Linked DNA regions of Homo sapiens: regions 2 and 3 are each linked to region 1. The links are contacts of gene promoters, found by promoter capture Hi-C in human tissues and cell types (Jung and others, 2019). All regions are on one chromosome and are shown on one strand. The core of a region is centred on a gene start or on the middle of the fragment in contact, and the rest is flanking DNA. Distances in the headings are between cores, read along the strand shown. Region 1 holds the start of LINGO3 (leucine rich repeat and Ig domain containing 3). Region 2 overlaps TMPRSS9 (transmembrane serine protease 9). Region 3 overlaps DOT1L (DOT1 like histone lysine methyltransferase).

Evidence for each region. Contacts are between HindIII fragments. The study calls those that stand out against the background at their distance.
Region 2: a contact is called between a fragment that was not itself captured here and the fragment with the promoter of LINGO3 in region 1, in 6 of the 25 tissues and cell types used here (IMR-90 fibroblasts, dorsolateral prefrontal cortex, liver and 3 more).
Region 3: a fragment that was not itself captured here is called in contact with the fragment with the promoter of LINGO3 in region 1 in 4 of the 25 tissues and cell types used here (bladder, dorsolateral prefrontal cortex, spleen and 1 more).

What each region holds. Positions count from the first base shown.
Region 1 is chr19:2,305,878-2,310,587 of GRCh38, reverse strand. It overlaps LINGO3 (leucine rich repeat and Ig domain containing 3), which reads left to right and starts at 2,434. Exons shown (of 2, transcript NM_001101391.3): 1 at 2,434-2,512. The HindIII fragment of the contact is 18,961 bases long and covers 1-4,710 here.
Region 2 is chr19:2,410,830-2,415,539 of GRCh38, reverse strand. TMPRSS9 (transmembrane serine protease 9) reads right to left here. Exons shown (of 19, transcript NM_001395513.1): 11 at 1,522-1,840. Among named protein-coding and RNA genes, the nearest start is that of TIMM13, 14 kb to the left of the region's middle. The HindIII fragment of the contact is 6,937 bases long and covers 1-4,710 here.
Region 3 is chr19:2,209,113-2,213,822 of GRCh38, reverse strand. It overlaps DOT1L (DOT1 like histone lysine methyltransferase), which reads right to left. Exons shown (of 28, transcript NM_032482.3): 13 at 3,313-3,423; 14 at 2,968-3,202; 15 at 2,611-2,724; 16 at 1,981-2,072; 17 at 183-284. DOT1L-AS1 (DOT1L antisense RNA 1) reads left to right here. Exons shown (of 2, transcript XR_007067087.1): 2 at 1-1,795. Among named protein-coding and RNA genes, the nearest start is that of DOT1L-AS1, 4.1 kb to the left of the region's middle. The HindIII fragment of the contact is 3,245 bases long and covers 257-3,501 here.

The sequences.
Region 1 (4,710 bases), core at 1,185-3,684:
CCCAATCTCCACCCCCAAGGGCTCGGGAGCACTGGCCACAAACCGGGCAGAACCACTGCAGAGTCTCTGCAGCCCCGGGAGAAGATGGGAACTGTTCCGATCTCCATTTTGCAGAGGTGGAGACCGAGGCTAGAGGGACATCCCCCACGGTTACACAGGCAGGGCCTCGACTGGACCCCAGCTGGCATCCCTCACCCTCCAGGACTCATAGCAAGTGTCTCCTCCTCCGGGAAGCCTCCCTGGCCCCTGGCTTCGGTCCGGGACCCGGTGTCACTACTGCCTCTTCCACGCCGCTTTGTGACGATTTCATATTTCAGGCATCTGCTCCCTCTGTCCGAAGAAATCCCCCTTGAGGCTGGAAGCGTCTCCTCCTCCTCCCTCCAGCCCTTGGCCTGGTATACAGTAGGTGCTCAATGAACACCTTCCTCCAAGAGCCCTGAGAGCCAGCTATCAGGAGCATCACTTTACAGAGAAAGAAACACGTTCAGAGAGAGAAGGAGACCTCCCCTACTGGGGTCACACAGCACAGCAGCCCAGGGCCATTTGGTGGGGAGAGCATGGGGTGTCATGAAGTCCTTCTGGACCTCTCTGGGGCCAGGAATTGAACCATACCCGCCCCCCACAGCATCCTGTGGGGGGCCTGGCCTGCAGCCTCCCAGGGATGCGGTTTCTGGGCCTCCAGCCAACGCGACAGTCTGGGAACAGAGCCTGCTTGAGTCACAGGTGGCTGCGTGAGTGCCAGGCCACCGCCAAAGCCACTGGGAATACACAGCTGGTGGGGAGGACTGCAGAGTGGGTGAAGGGGGCAGACAGGGCAAGGTTACACACACAGGTTCCCGAGGCCTCCTTCTCACCCCTCACTTGGGACAAATGGCATCTCCCAGCCTTGGTTTGCTCATCTGTGAGACAGGGAGGCTAAATGTGGCTTTTAGAAGATGCAGTGAGGGGCCGGGCATAGTAGCTCACGTCTGTCATCCCAGCACTTTGGGAGGCCGAGGCGGGTGGATCACCTGAGGTCAGGAGTTCGAGACCAGCCTGGCCAACATGGTGAAACTCTATCTCCCCTAAAAATACAAAAATTAGCCAGGCATGGTCATGGGCGCCTGTAATCCCAGCTACTTGGGAGACTGAGACAGGAGAATCGCCTGAACCCGGGAGGTGGAAGTTGCAGTGAGCCAAGATTGCACCACTGCACTCCAGAATGGGTGACGAGAGCAAAACTCCATTTCAAAAAAAAAAAAAAAAAAAAAAGACAAAAAAAAAGGTAAAAAACTTTCCATGAGCACTCGCAGTGCACTTGGTGTGTGCGCTGCTGTGTGCTAGGCGGAAGGCACATTGGGGAACAAGCCCATTAGACAAACTGAGAGGCTCCAAGCTGCTCGATGGAGGGACAGAGAGAAAGGCTGTCCAAGCTGGGCACAGCGAAGATCAAAGGCCTGGGACTGGAGGGACTTGGCCTGTTTGAGGAAGGCTGAGGGGGTGGAGCCCGGGAAAGAGTGAGTGAGGACAGGCCAGGGGGAAGGAGGTGGTGCGGCAGACCAAACAGTGCAGGCAGCCGGGCGGTGGCTCACACCTGTCATCCCAGCACTTTGGGAGGCCGAGGTGGGTGGATCACCCGAGGTCAGGGGTTTGAGACCAGCCTGGCCAACATGCTGAAAATCCGTCTCTAATAAAAATACAAAAATTAGCCGGGCGTGGTGGCGGGTGCCTGTAATCCCAGCTACTTGGGAGGCTGAGGCAGGAGAATCGCTTGAACCCAGGAGGCGGAGGTTGCAGTGAGCCAAGATGGCACCGCTGTACTCCAGCCTGGGCAACAGAGCAAGACTCCATCTCAAAAAAAAAAAGAAAGAAAGAAAGAAAGAAAGAACGAAAGAAAGAGAAATTCCAGGGTAGGTGGGGTGCAGACGGGACCCTCACGGCAATAGGGAATCACGGCAGGTTCTGGAGCCCAGTGGCTAAGCTTCCTCTGAGGGGCTTCCTCTGAGGGCCACATAAGGAATGGGCCTGGGCTGGGCTGTGGCAGATGTCCAGGTGCAGATGGTGGCGGCCTGGACTAGGGGTGGGGGACGGGGGGCAGAGGAGGCGATGGTAGCTTCCAGAAGGTTCCACACGGAACAACCTGCTGCACTTGGGGTGCCCCTGCGTTTATTGCACGGCACGGCCGTCTCCGCAGGCTCACCCAGGCCGTGGGGACAGGAGGTCCTCGGACACGAAGCGCCCGGGATGCGCACGGAGGGGTTCTGCACCCGCGCTCCCAGTGTCCCCGCACCTGCGCCCACGTGGCCTCTCACACCTGCGGCCCCAGCCGCCGCGCACGCGGCCCAGCGCAGCCCCCGCGCGCCCCCGCCAGGCGCGCCGAGGAGACCGGCGGGCGGTTGCGCGCGGCGGCGGCGCGCACGGCGGAGCCCGGGAGGCGGCGGCGGCGGCGGCGGCGGCGGCGGCGGCTGCTCGTGTCGGCTCCGGGCGGCCCCCGCGCCGCAGCCCGCGCCGTGTCCGCGGCGGAGCCGCCCAGGTGAGTGGCCGTGCCGGGGCCCGGCGTGGGGCGCGCCCGCAGACCTGGGGACCCCTCACCTGCACCCTGCGACCCTGCCGCCCAAAGCCCCCAACCCGCGACCCCATCCTCAGCCGGGGGAAATTGCCCCGCGCACCCCTCCCGGGCTCATCGCTCCTTGCCAGGCCCCCGACGCTCCCCCTGGAAACTTTGGGGGCGAACTCCCCACCCTGGGGCCCCCCGCCCCTCCTCTGGGGCGCCAAGGAGCGGGGAATCGGGTGGGCATCTCCCCGGGGCACTGGGGACGCTGGGAGGATGCGCTCCTCTCCAGGAGGAGATGAAGGGGGCACTGGTTGGGTCTGGGGTGTGGGGAACGTCCGAATAGAGCCTGCAGCCCGCGCCTTCCTGCCCTGTCTCCCCCGAGCCGGGTCTGGTCCAGCCTGGGGGTGCGGAGCTGGAAGACGCAAAGGGTATCTGGGGTCCACACCGGAGCCTGCTCCATCGCTGGAGCTGACGGCCCGGCCTGGCGGGGAGGGACCTGGGGGCATAGGGCTGAGTCCCCCTGCTCTGGGGGCGTCTGAATAGCACCAGAAATGGTGGGCCTGGGCACCCTGAGTGGGTGCCGCCACCTCCCGGGCCTCTGGGGCCTGGCCAGGGGAGGCCCTGAGTCCCATTCAACAAGTTTAGGGGAGCAGCACCTCGTGCCTTGGTCCGGGCACAAGAAAAGCCCCGGGTCCTTACGCTGGAGACCACCATGTAACTGGGTTTCTCAACGTGTGCTTGGGGCGCTAACGGTGCCGGTGTCCCGGCCCCCCCAGTTCTGAGGAGTCAGAACTTCTGAGGCGATGTGCCCCAGAAGCTGCATTTTAGCAAGCGGTCCCTGGCTAAACCATGGACGCAGCGAGGCTGCAGACACCCTTGCTCCGGCGGGGGTGGGGAGCGGGCGTCTGCTGTGCAGTGGTATTTGCAGAGGGACGATCTGGGGCTTGGCTGGGGGGAGCCTTCAGGGACAACAGAGCTGTGAGAACCAGAGCAACCCAGGAGGGCTCCCTGGAAGTGGCCTGGAGAGGATGCAGAAGGTGTGAGGTGTGAGTGGTCAGGTGGAGGACGCAGGCTGGAAACAGGTTCAGGGAGGGTGGTGCTGGCTTTATCAGGAGGCTGGTGTGGGGTGGGCTGCCGCGGCATGGCCTTACCCTGGCTGTTCTCTGAGCCGAAGCAGCAGCCATCGTCGGAGACAGGATCTGAGTGGGAAGAACCCACGGGCTTCCCCTGTAGACCCAGCTCCTGTCCCCATCTCGATGATGTGGGGTGGCAGGAAGGGGGCAGCCGGGCGGTGGGATGGGGGCTTAGGAGGGTTCAACTCAGCCTTCCCTGCCCTGCCTGTCTGGTCTTCACCGGTGACTTCCGGCAAATGACGTCCCCTCTCTCAGATCCACCCCACATGGGATTAAATGAGATGCTGCCCACCTCGGCTGCAGTGTGGTGCCACCATAAAACAGATGCTCAGGTCACGATGGTTACGGCAGCAGCCCTGCCTGGCCTCCCTCAGCCTCAGCCGTCCACCCCCAGGGTAAGCCGGGACCTGAAGGTGCCTTGCTGAGTGGGAATAGAAGGCAGTTTGATGTCTCTTCCCACAGCACTGTCATTCCCCGGCGCCCCCTGAGTCACTACCTCGTCACCAGGTAGAGCCTCTTGAAGAACTCTGCGAGCAAAGTTGGCCCCGGGTGGGCCCCATCAAGCCGCCCACCACCACATGTCAATCTCGGGCCTCCAAAGAGCGCCCTTCACCCTCTAGTGGGGAGCTGGGATTTTGTGGGTAGGAGCTGGCGTCAGATCCAGGTTCAAATGCTGACTGTCTGCAGCTAAGTTGTGCAGTGAGCTGGGGCCCACTCTGACCCTCAGTCTCCTTCTCTCCAAAACGAACTTTATTATTCCCCCTAGTCAGGGCTGGGCTAGTGGGTGAAGTGGCCGGTGTAGACAGTGGGTGCTCCAAAACTGGTTCCAGATCCAGAGGCCCTGCCTGCAGAGGGCAGTCCACGGCCCCCCGTGTACAGGCTGGGAAGGAAAGTGGGTCGGGAGGCCCCCAGCCCCTCGAGGGGTTGACGGGGACTAACAGCAGATGGAAGCTAATTAGGGCTTAATGAATTGTCATGGATGAAGCCCCGGGAGGGCCTGGATCTAGGGCAGAGGATGCAGGGGTCCTGGGGGACTGGCAGCGT
Region 2 (4,710 bases), core at 842-3,341, 110 kb before region 1:
GAAGCCGTGGAGGCTTCAAGGTGTCCGTAGTTTGCCCAAGGTCCTGCAGCAAGTTCGTGGCCTCGCTTCGGGGACAGAAGTTAAGAAAGAAACATACAGCGGCCCAGTCAGCCCGAGGACCCCCCGCAACAGACCCCACCACAGACCCGCAGCCCACAAAGCCAGGTTTATGGCCTCCTTGCAAAGACGGGGCTGCACTCCAGGAGACCCATGGGGCGGCTGAGAAAAGGAAGGGTACGATTGTTAGGGGGTTTCGGAACAGAGTGTGGGGTGTAGGTGAACTGAAATGAAGCATGGCCGGGCGCGGTGGCTCATGCCTGTTATCCCAGCACTTTGGGAGGCCAAGGCGGGCAGATCACCTGAGGTCAGGAGTTCGAGACCAGCCTGGCCAACATGGCGAAACCCCAACTCTACTAAAAATACAAAAATTAGCCAAGCATGGTGATGGGCACCTGTAATCCCAGCTATTCAGGAGGCTGAGGCAGGAGAATCACTTGAACCGGGAGGTGGAGGTTGCAGTGAGCCGAGATCACACCACTGCACTCCAGCCTGGGCGACAAGAGTGAAACTCCGTCTCAGAAAAAAAAAAAAAAAAAAATAGGAATGCAACTAACAGTTTTTGGAAACAGAGATATAGTCCTACAAGTTTTCTTTTTTCTTTTTCGAGATGGAGTTGTGCTCTTGTTGCCCGGGCTGGAGTGCAGTGGCACCATGTCACCGTATCAGCTCACTGCAACCTCCGCTTCCTGGGTTCAAGCGATTCTCCTGCCTCAGCCTCCCAAGTAGCTGGGATTACAGGTGCCCTCCACCATGCCCAGCTAATTTTTAGTATAGATGGGGTTTTGCCATGTTGGCCAGGCTGGTCTTGAACTCCTGACCTCAAGCGATCTGCCCACCTCTGCCTCCCAAAGTGTGCGATGACAGGCACGAGCCACCGCACCCTGCCAGTCCTACAAGTTGTCTGGGTACAAACTATTTGAAAATACAATAGAAAGTATTCCAGACCGGGCATGGTGGCTCACACCTGTCATCCCAGCATTTTGGGAGGCTGAGGTGGGCAGATGATGAAGTCAGGAGTTCGAGGCCAGCCTGACCAACATGGGGAAACCCCGTCTCTACTAAAAATACAAAAATTAGCCGGGTGTGGTGGCCTGTGCCTGTAATCCCGGCTGTTCAGGAGGCTGAGGCAGGAGAATCACTTGAACCTGGGAGGCGGAGGTTGCAGTGAGCCGAGATCACGCCACTGCACTCCAGCCTGGGCGACGGAGCAAGACTGCGTCTCAAAAAAAAAAAAAAGTATCCCATTGATAGATCGCCATAGTTAACAAGACATGGGCAAGACCTGTGGACAGAAAGATACCATGAGGGTACACGCAACGTAAGATGGGAATAAACGGATACACATGTGACCTTTCCTTGAACAGGAAGATCCAAAATTATGAAGATACTATGACGATATCCGTTCTCCCTAAATCAAGATAGGCACGTACATCATCTTCTACCTTTCTGCCCCGAAAATACCTTGTAGCTTAGGAACGGTGACCCAGTCAAGAGGCACGGTACTGAGGGCCTGCATCGATTTGGTGGGGGTGCTGACCACAGGGCTCTCAGGACTGGTGGGCCAGGCTGTGCTGGGGGCGGCAGGGGCAGGAGCCATGGTGGGGGCCAGAGGCATGCTGGCTTTGGTGGTGGCCTCCAGGATCCAGTCACGTAGCCTGGTGACTCGGGCATAGACCCCTGGACGCCGGGCTTCCGCACACCCGATTCCCCAGCTCACGATGCCAGCCAGAAAGAACCGGCCAGAGGGCTCCTCGCAGACCAGGGGTCCTCCTGAGTCACCCTAGGAAACCAACACACACCCTCAGGATGGGTCGGCAGCAGCCAGTCCAGACACCAGTGCTACGAGGCCCAAGAAGGAGCTCTGAGCTGGGACAGCCAGGACCTCTCTCCACACAAGCTCACAGAGCACCTGGGGCTGATCATTGACATCTCAGAACCTGTTTCCTCTTCTGTGGAGGAAAAAAAACAAAACCCAAGACAGTTGGACTATAGGATCTCTAAGATGTCTTTCAGTCCTACCTCTGGCAGGCCAAAACGTGACCCAAATAAATAACATCCCCTCCTCTTCTTAACTCAGTAGATCTTTGATAATGTCACCACTTGCTTAGGCTGGCAGTATGGCTGCCACGCGGGTGCCTCCATATATCTCACTGGTAGCTGCAGCATTGCTCCCAAAGTGCTCATCTGCTGTCACTCGTCCGGCCTCACCATTTTTTACCTTCCCATATCCAGTTCACCCTGACCCTTACGTTCTGTGTATCGTTTTTTTGTTTGTTTTTGTTTTTGAGATAGAGTTTTGCTCTGTTGCCCAGGCTGGAGTGCAATGGCGTGATCTCGGCTCACTGCAACCTCCTCCTCCCAGGTTCAAGCAATTCTCCTGCCTCAGCCTCCCAAGTAGCTGTGATTATAGGCACGCATCACCACGCCCGGCTAATTTCTTGTATTTTTAGTAGAGACGGGGTTTCACCATGTTGGCCAGGCTGGTCTTGAACTCCTGACCTTAAGTGATCTGCCCACCTCAGCCTCCCAAAGTGCTGGGATGACAGGCGTGAGCCACCGTGCCTGGCCGACTCTTACATTCTTAAACATGAGCCCTCTCATTAGTTCCTAGCATTTTCTCCAGATTCTGGTTTCAATATGGCAATCTAAGCACATGTAGCAGTCTCTCCCATCTTTTCCTCACCCACCAGGCCTTAGAAACAAGAGCAAAGGTATGCACAAGAAAGACAGGAATCCACAGCCATGCTAAAAAAATTAGGCAGGAGAGATCCCTGGTTGTGGACCAGAAACCATGAAGACTCACGAGAGGCTGACAGAGGAAGTGGCAGCCCAGCCCATGTGCAGAAGCTCAAGACACAAGAGAAAGCTTTCTCAAGAGGACCTGGGTTGGTTGGGGTAGAAAAGGGATTTGGGCAACCACAAAGGATAAATGAGACCAGGAGGTCTTTGGTCCCTTGAAAGGGTACATAGAATCCAAGAACACAAACTGTTAATGTCCCTCGCCAAGAGAAAGTGAATAGCAAATATAAGATCACGGCAAGAATTGAGCGACATTTTTAAATTTTCAATTTTGTTTGAGACGGCGTCTCACTCTGTCACTCAGGCTAGAGTACAGTGGCGTGATCTTGGCTTACTGCAACCTCCACCTCCTGGGCTCAAATAATCCTCCCACCTCAGCCTCTCAAGTAGCTGGGACTACAGGCATGCACCACCAAACCCAGCTAATTTTTGTTTTTGTTTTTGTTTTTGTAGAGACAAAAGTTTTGCTATGTTGCCCTAACTGGTCTCAAACTCCTGGCCTCAAGCGACCTGGCTGCCTCAGCCTCCCAAAGTACTGGGATTACAGGTGTGAGCCACTGCACCCAGCTTTTCATTCTTAAGCACCAGTTGAGGGATTCCAATCTCCATGAAATAAAGACACTCAGTTACAACAGAATAACTTACGTTTGCCTGAAATACAGTTAACCACAAATATAGAATATAGAAGAAACATAACGGATTAAATTACGATCCTCAGAGAAAAAGAAAGAAATGGTATCCACGAAACAAGAACAGGACACTGCAAACAAGACCAGGTGGCTGAAAGAAGAAAGAATGAGACACCTTGAAAACAAAAATTATAATTGTCGGCCGGGCCTGGTGGCTCACACCTGTAATCCTAGCACTTTGGGAGGACAAGGTGGGCAGATCACCTGAAGCCAGGATTTCGAGACCAGCCTGGCCAACATGGCGAAACCCTGTCTTTACTAAAAGTATAAAAATTATCCAGGCGTGGTGGTGGGCACCTGTTATTCCAGCTACTCGGGAGGCTGAGGCATGAGAACCACTTGAAACTGGGAGGTGAGCCAAGATGGTGCCACTGCACTCCAGCCTGGGTGACAGAGCGAGACAGTGTCTTAATTAAAAATACAAAAATTAGCTAGGTGTGGTGGCGCATGCCTATAATCACAGCTACTCTGGAGGCTGAGGCAGGAGACTCGCTTGAACCTGGGAGGCGGAGGTTGCAGTGAGCTGAGATCACACCACTGCACTCCAGCCTGGGTGACAGAGTGAGACTCCATCTCAAAAAAAAAAAAAAAGAAGAAGAAGAAAAAGAAGGTTCCAGGTATACAGCAGAAGCAGCTTTGGATGACCCCTGATTTTCTCTTTTTTTTTTTTTTTTTTTTTTTTTTTTTTTTTTGAGACAGAGTCTTGCTTTGTCGCCCAGGCTGGAGTGCAATGGCGTGATCTCAGCTCACTGCAACCTCCAGCTCCCAGGTTCAGATGATTCTCCTGCCTCAGCCACCCGAGGAGCTGGGATTACAGGCACCTGCCACCACGCCAGGCTAATTTTTGTATTTTTAGTAGAGACAAGGTTTCGCCATGTTGCTCAGGCTGGTCTCAAACTCCTGACCTCAAGTGATCCACCCGCCTTGGCCTCGCATAGTGCTGGGATTACAGGCGTGAGCCACCGTGCCCAGCCCTGGAACCTTCTTGAGTTGAGCCTGCAGCTCACTCATGGCCCAGCTGACCACCCAGGGGCAAAAGTCCACGGGGTTCCCATAGACCAACCCTTCCCATACAGACGGAGAGAATCTGATGCCCAGGGTATGTGCTGGCATCATTCATACAAGAGGTGTTTCTTGGGTGCCACGTTGTATCAGGCCCAGT
Region 3 (4,710 bases), core at 630-3,129, 96 kb after region 1:
CATGCTGGTGGCCTCCAAGGTGAAGTAAGCCCCCAGGCATGACCACCCCTGCAGCCCAGCCCCTGGGACACAGCTGGACAGAGGCATAGACAGGAAGCCACAGGAAGCCATACCGACGGACATGGACCACCCCAGCCTGCGCCCCAGCTGCCACCTGCCACCTGCCCTCTGGGGTCCACTACCTCATCCAATTTTTGCTGAAACAGCCTCCTGATCTCCTCCTTCTGGGCCTGGCAGTGGCTGAGGAGCTGCTGAGCCGCACCCAGGAGCTGGGCGTTCTTCTCCTGTAGGACAAACAGGGCAGGTGACTAAGGGCCAGGGCAGGTGACTGAGGGCCCACAGGGAGGGCCCACGCCCTGCCTCTCATGCTTCCTGAAGACACGCTCAAGGACAGACATGCCTGAGGGGACCCACACCGGGCTGAGATGTCAAGAAATACTCAGGCCACGGCGGGAGGGGACCAGCTCTGCATCAGGTTCACTGCAAAGAACTCTCGCCAGCTGGAGGGACTGCACCTGCCACCCCACCTGGACTCAGCCAGGGCAGCGCCCCCAGCCACGCAGAGGCCGGCCAATGCCAAGGAGTTTATCCCAAGGCAATACCAGGGGATGGACTTTTCACATGGATCTGCAAGGAAGCCTTCTGCAGCGTAACAGCAAACACTCAGTGTCCGGAGGCCCACCTCCAAGGGAAGACCCCAGGAGCCACTGACACAGGACAACCTTCAGACACCAGCAGAGAACAGGGCCCCGGCCCAGGCATGCTGTCAGCTACACAGTGAGCAATGCATGTGCATATATGCTCAAAGCACGCTGTAAGCTTTTTTTTAAAAGCAAAGCCAAAGTCCAAAATGCAAACCAGGGCTCAGGGACAGCCGACCTTGTGGCTCCAATGGCTTTTGGAGTTATCTCTGGGCCGCCAGAACTTCCACCCCATAGCCCGGCCCTAGCTCCCCACTAAAGCAGGTCCTCGGAGACTCCCAGGGCGGGGCCCCACAGCCGGGACCTCAGGTGAAGGAAATCATGTATACAGTGGTCCATTTCCAGGACAAACTGCCTTGAATTGGCTTAGGTCAGCAAACTACAGAAGAGACAGCATGTACTAGGCCCCTGCTTGGATCGCTGATGCCTGCTTGTCAGCCTCCCCTGCCCCCGCTTCCCCCGGCTTAGTTGCCCTCACCCGAACCAAAGAAGTTTAGCCTAAGATGAAGGTTTACCAGCCTGCAAAAGAGCTGGCTTTGTCTGTTCTTAATCAGCCTGCCCAGCTACTTAGATCATAAGTCAAATACTTGAACAGTCCCTGAGCTGACTGGGATTGCAATGCACAAAATGCAGCAGGACAACCCTAAAGAAAACACCTACAACCGGGCGTGGTGGCTCATGCCTGTAATCCCAGCACTTTGGGAGTCCGAGGCGGGAGGATCACGAGATTAGGAGATCAAGACCATCCTGGCCAACACAGTGAGACCCCGTCTCTACTAAAAATACAAAAAATTAGCCGGATGTGGTGGTGGGTGCCTGTAGTCCCAGCTACTTGGGAGGCTGAGGCAGGAGAATGGCGTGAACCCGGGAGGCGGAGTTTGCAGTGAGCCGAGATCACACCACTGCACTCCAGCCCCTGCCGAACCAATAGGCGACAACTGGGAAGACTGTGACCTCACAGTACTCAGCCTTTGAGGAACCGGGGGAGGGACCTGTGCACTAGGGGGAAGGTTGCTTGTTCAAACTGTGCTGGGTGTGCCTATCAGACACCAGGTCTTGCAAAACCATGATTAAAAGTCTCATTTTCGCTGTTTTCCGGGTCTCTCAGTCCATTCTTTGGGTTTAAACGGGTAGGTTTGTTTCTCGCAGCAGGTGAGCAGAGGAGGGAGCCCACTCAGGCCTGCGCTCCAGGGCCTCTGCCACAGGGGACAGATGCCCAGGAACAGGAACGAACTGCCTCTGTGCGGGAAGGCGGAATGCCAAGGGGGCCAGGACCCACCTTCTCCTGGCCCAGCAGCTCCTGCAGGCTGGCCTTGTACTGGGGGGTCTTTGTGTATGCCAGGAACTGCAGGTACTGGATCTTGAAGGACTCTGGGAAGAGAGGCGGAACACAGGTGAGAAGAGAGCAGCTGAGACTGAGAGGGAAGAGGTGGGAGCAGCCCTTGAGAACGAGTCCCAGGCCTCGGCAGGTGTCAGGCACTCATGAGGCAGGAGCTCAGCAGAGCCTGGCGGGGCCCATGCCACACGCCCCAAGCTCGCAGAGCACTCAGGCCCTCTGACCCCTGCGCAGCCAAGTGTTCACCGCGTGGGGCCATCCTGGGCACTGCAAGGCCCTGAGCAGCATCCCTGGCCTGCACCCACCCCATGCCAGCAACATCCCTAAGTTATGACAACTGCAGACGTCCCAAGTGTCACCCAGCATCTCCTGGGTAAGACCTCAGACAACCCACAGGCTGCATCTGAGCCTCTACTGACCCCTGCAGCAGGCAGACCCCAACCCTGGGTAAACTTCAGTGGGGTCCAGCATGGAGGTCACGGGGGCTGCTGCGAGGTCAGCGTCACAACCCACGGTCCTCCTGGGATGACCCCAAGCCCAGAACCCTTCGCCGGACGCCTCACACGGGCTCACCTAGAAGCTTCTGCAGCGCGGGCGGGGTGGGCGCCACCAGCAGCGGGTTGGGGGAGTGCCGCTGCACGCTCGGAGGTAGCTGGTAGAACGGGCTGTGAGGGGATCTGTAGGCATCTGGGAGAGCGGAGGGCAGGCGTCAGCACAGGGCGGGTCGGGAGAGCGGTGGGCAGAGGCGTCAGCATGGGGCAGGTGCCCAGCAACCCCTTAGGATGGGGCCACCCTGAAGGCACAGCCACAACAGGGAGGCTCCAGGGACACCCTGAACACACGGGGCTCAGGAGGGCAGCGTCCCAGCAGAGGGGACCCCAGGCATCCGCACTCGGGGAGAGCGGGGGCCGTGGCGTGGGGGCGGCTCACCCTGGGGTGAGGAGGCCGCCGTCTGAGACACGGTCTGAGCGTGCAGGGCATCCAGTGCAGTTTGGTTCTTCTTGGGCTTCCGCTCGGGGTTCGCAGTGTTCATCTTCTTGGGGCGCCCGCGCTTGCGGCCAGCCATCTTCCTCCCCTTCTTGTTTAGCTTCTTCTTGCGGGCTTTGGAGGGAGACGGCTTCTTCACGGTGGCTGCTCCCGCCTTCTCTTCCTCAGCACCAGAGTCCTGGAGGACACAAGGGAAGAACAGGGATGGGCACAGAGCCTCCCACCCATGGGGTCTCCCGGGCAGGGGGCGGGTGCCCTCCAGCAGCAGGAGCCAGGCTGGGGCCTTACCATGGGGGCGTCGGCGGGGCCGGCCACCTTGCCCTCTGGGCCCTTAGTGGGCGTGGCCGCGTTGCTCTTGCTCTCGCGCTGCTGGCGGCGCCGGGCTGCCTCCTGTTCCTCCTGGAAGGAGAGCAGGTTGAGCCACAGGAAGCCCCAGCGCTGCCCACGGCCCTCCTGCACCGAGAGGCACGCGGAGCTCAGACTCAAGGGGGCCACGGGCCCAACTCTGTCCACTGCAAGTCCTCTGTGGCACAAATCAGGAAACTGAGGCCCAGAGACAGCAGTGGGCTGCTTGGGGCCCCGCAGGCCAGGACGTGACCCGTGGGCACGGATAACGGCATTCACAGCCACTCCCACAATCACAGATGCCTGTCAGTAAGAAGCCAGACTGTGAGCCACAGAGAAAAAGAACCACATCCAAGACAGGAGACGAGAAGCCCCTCAGGCAGCAGGACCTAGAAGCCACAGCCCACAGCCTCCCCTGCCCTCTCTCCTCTCTTCGAAAGGCACCGAGGCCCACACATGGGACGCCATGCACAAGTTCTCTGATGTGAGTTAGTGGAGGGCGCGACCCACGGGAAGGGGAACACAGGGTGCGCCGGCCACCTCGGGCCGTTCCCTGCTCTCCAGGGAAGACCCACATCCCCCTAAGCATGGTGGGAAGGACAGAGGGCCCCCGAGGGGTACCAGGCTCTGAGGCCGGGTTGGAGCCCAGCCCTGGCTACAAATCCAGGCAGTGACAGAGCCCTTCCTGTACGGGGTTCTCCGCATGCTGGTCTTGTCTGACCCCCTCCAAAAGGAAAGGACGCCCGGACAAACATCCTCTCAGCTTTGGTGGCAAATAAGCAGGCAGGTCTGAGGCTGCAGAAGCGCCAGCGGGCAGGGCGGCCACTGTGGCTCCCCAAGCCAGGCTTTCCCACCGCTGCTTTAAGGTGGGAGAGGAGGGGACAGCCCTGCCTCCGACGGTGCAGCGCGTGCAGGGCGCGGGGGCCCAGGAGCTGCACTCTGCACCGAGGGTGGGACAAGCGCACATGTGTGGCCCCCCAGGCCTCAAGAGGGGGCAGCCAGCAGTGACGCACAAGCTTTTCACCCACCCAGCCCTTCAGTGCAACTCACCCCACCACCAAAACTAAGCCAAGCCACCTCCCCAAAAATAAGTATTAACAAGGGGAAGGATGTCCCAGGCCAAACCATCAAAGACAAGGCAAAGCATGAAGACAGGCAAAGAGACAGAGAGAGGGTGGGAGAGAGAGAGAAACGGAGAGGGAGGGTGGGGGAGAGAGAGAGAGATTGAATGGTGAGAGAAAAGGGCTGGGAGAGGAGAGGAAGAGGGGGAGGACAGGGAGGAAAGGGTAGGGAGAGGACCAGGAGTGACAGTGGGGAGGAGCAGGAAGGAGGCGGGAAAGG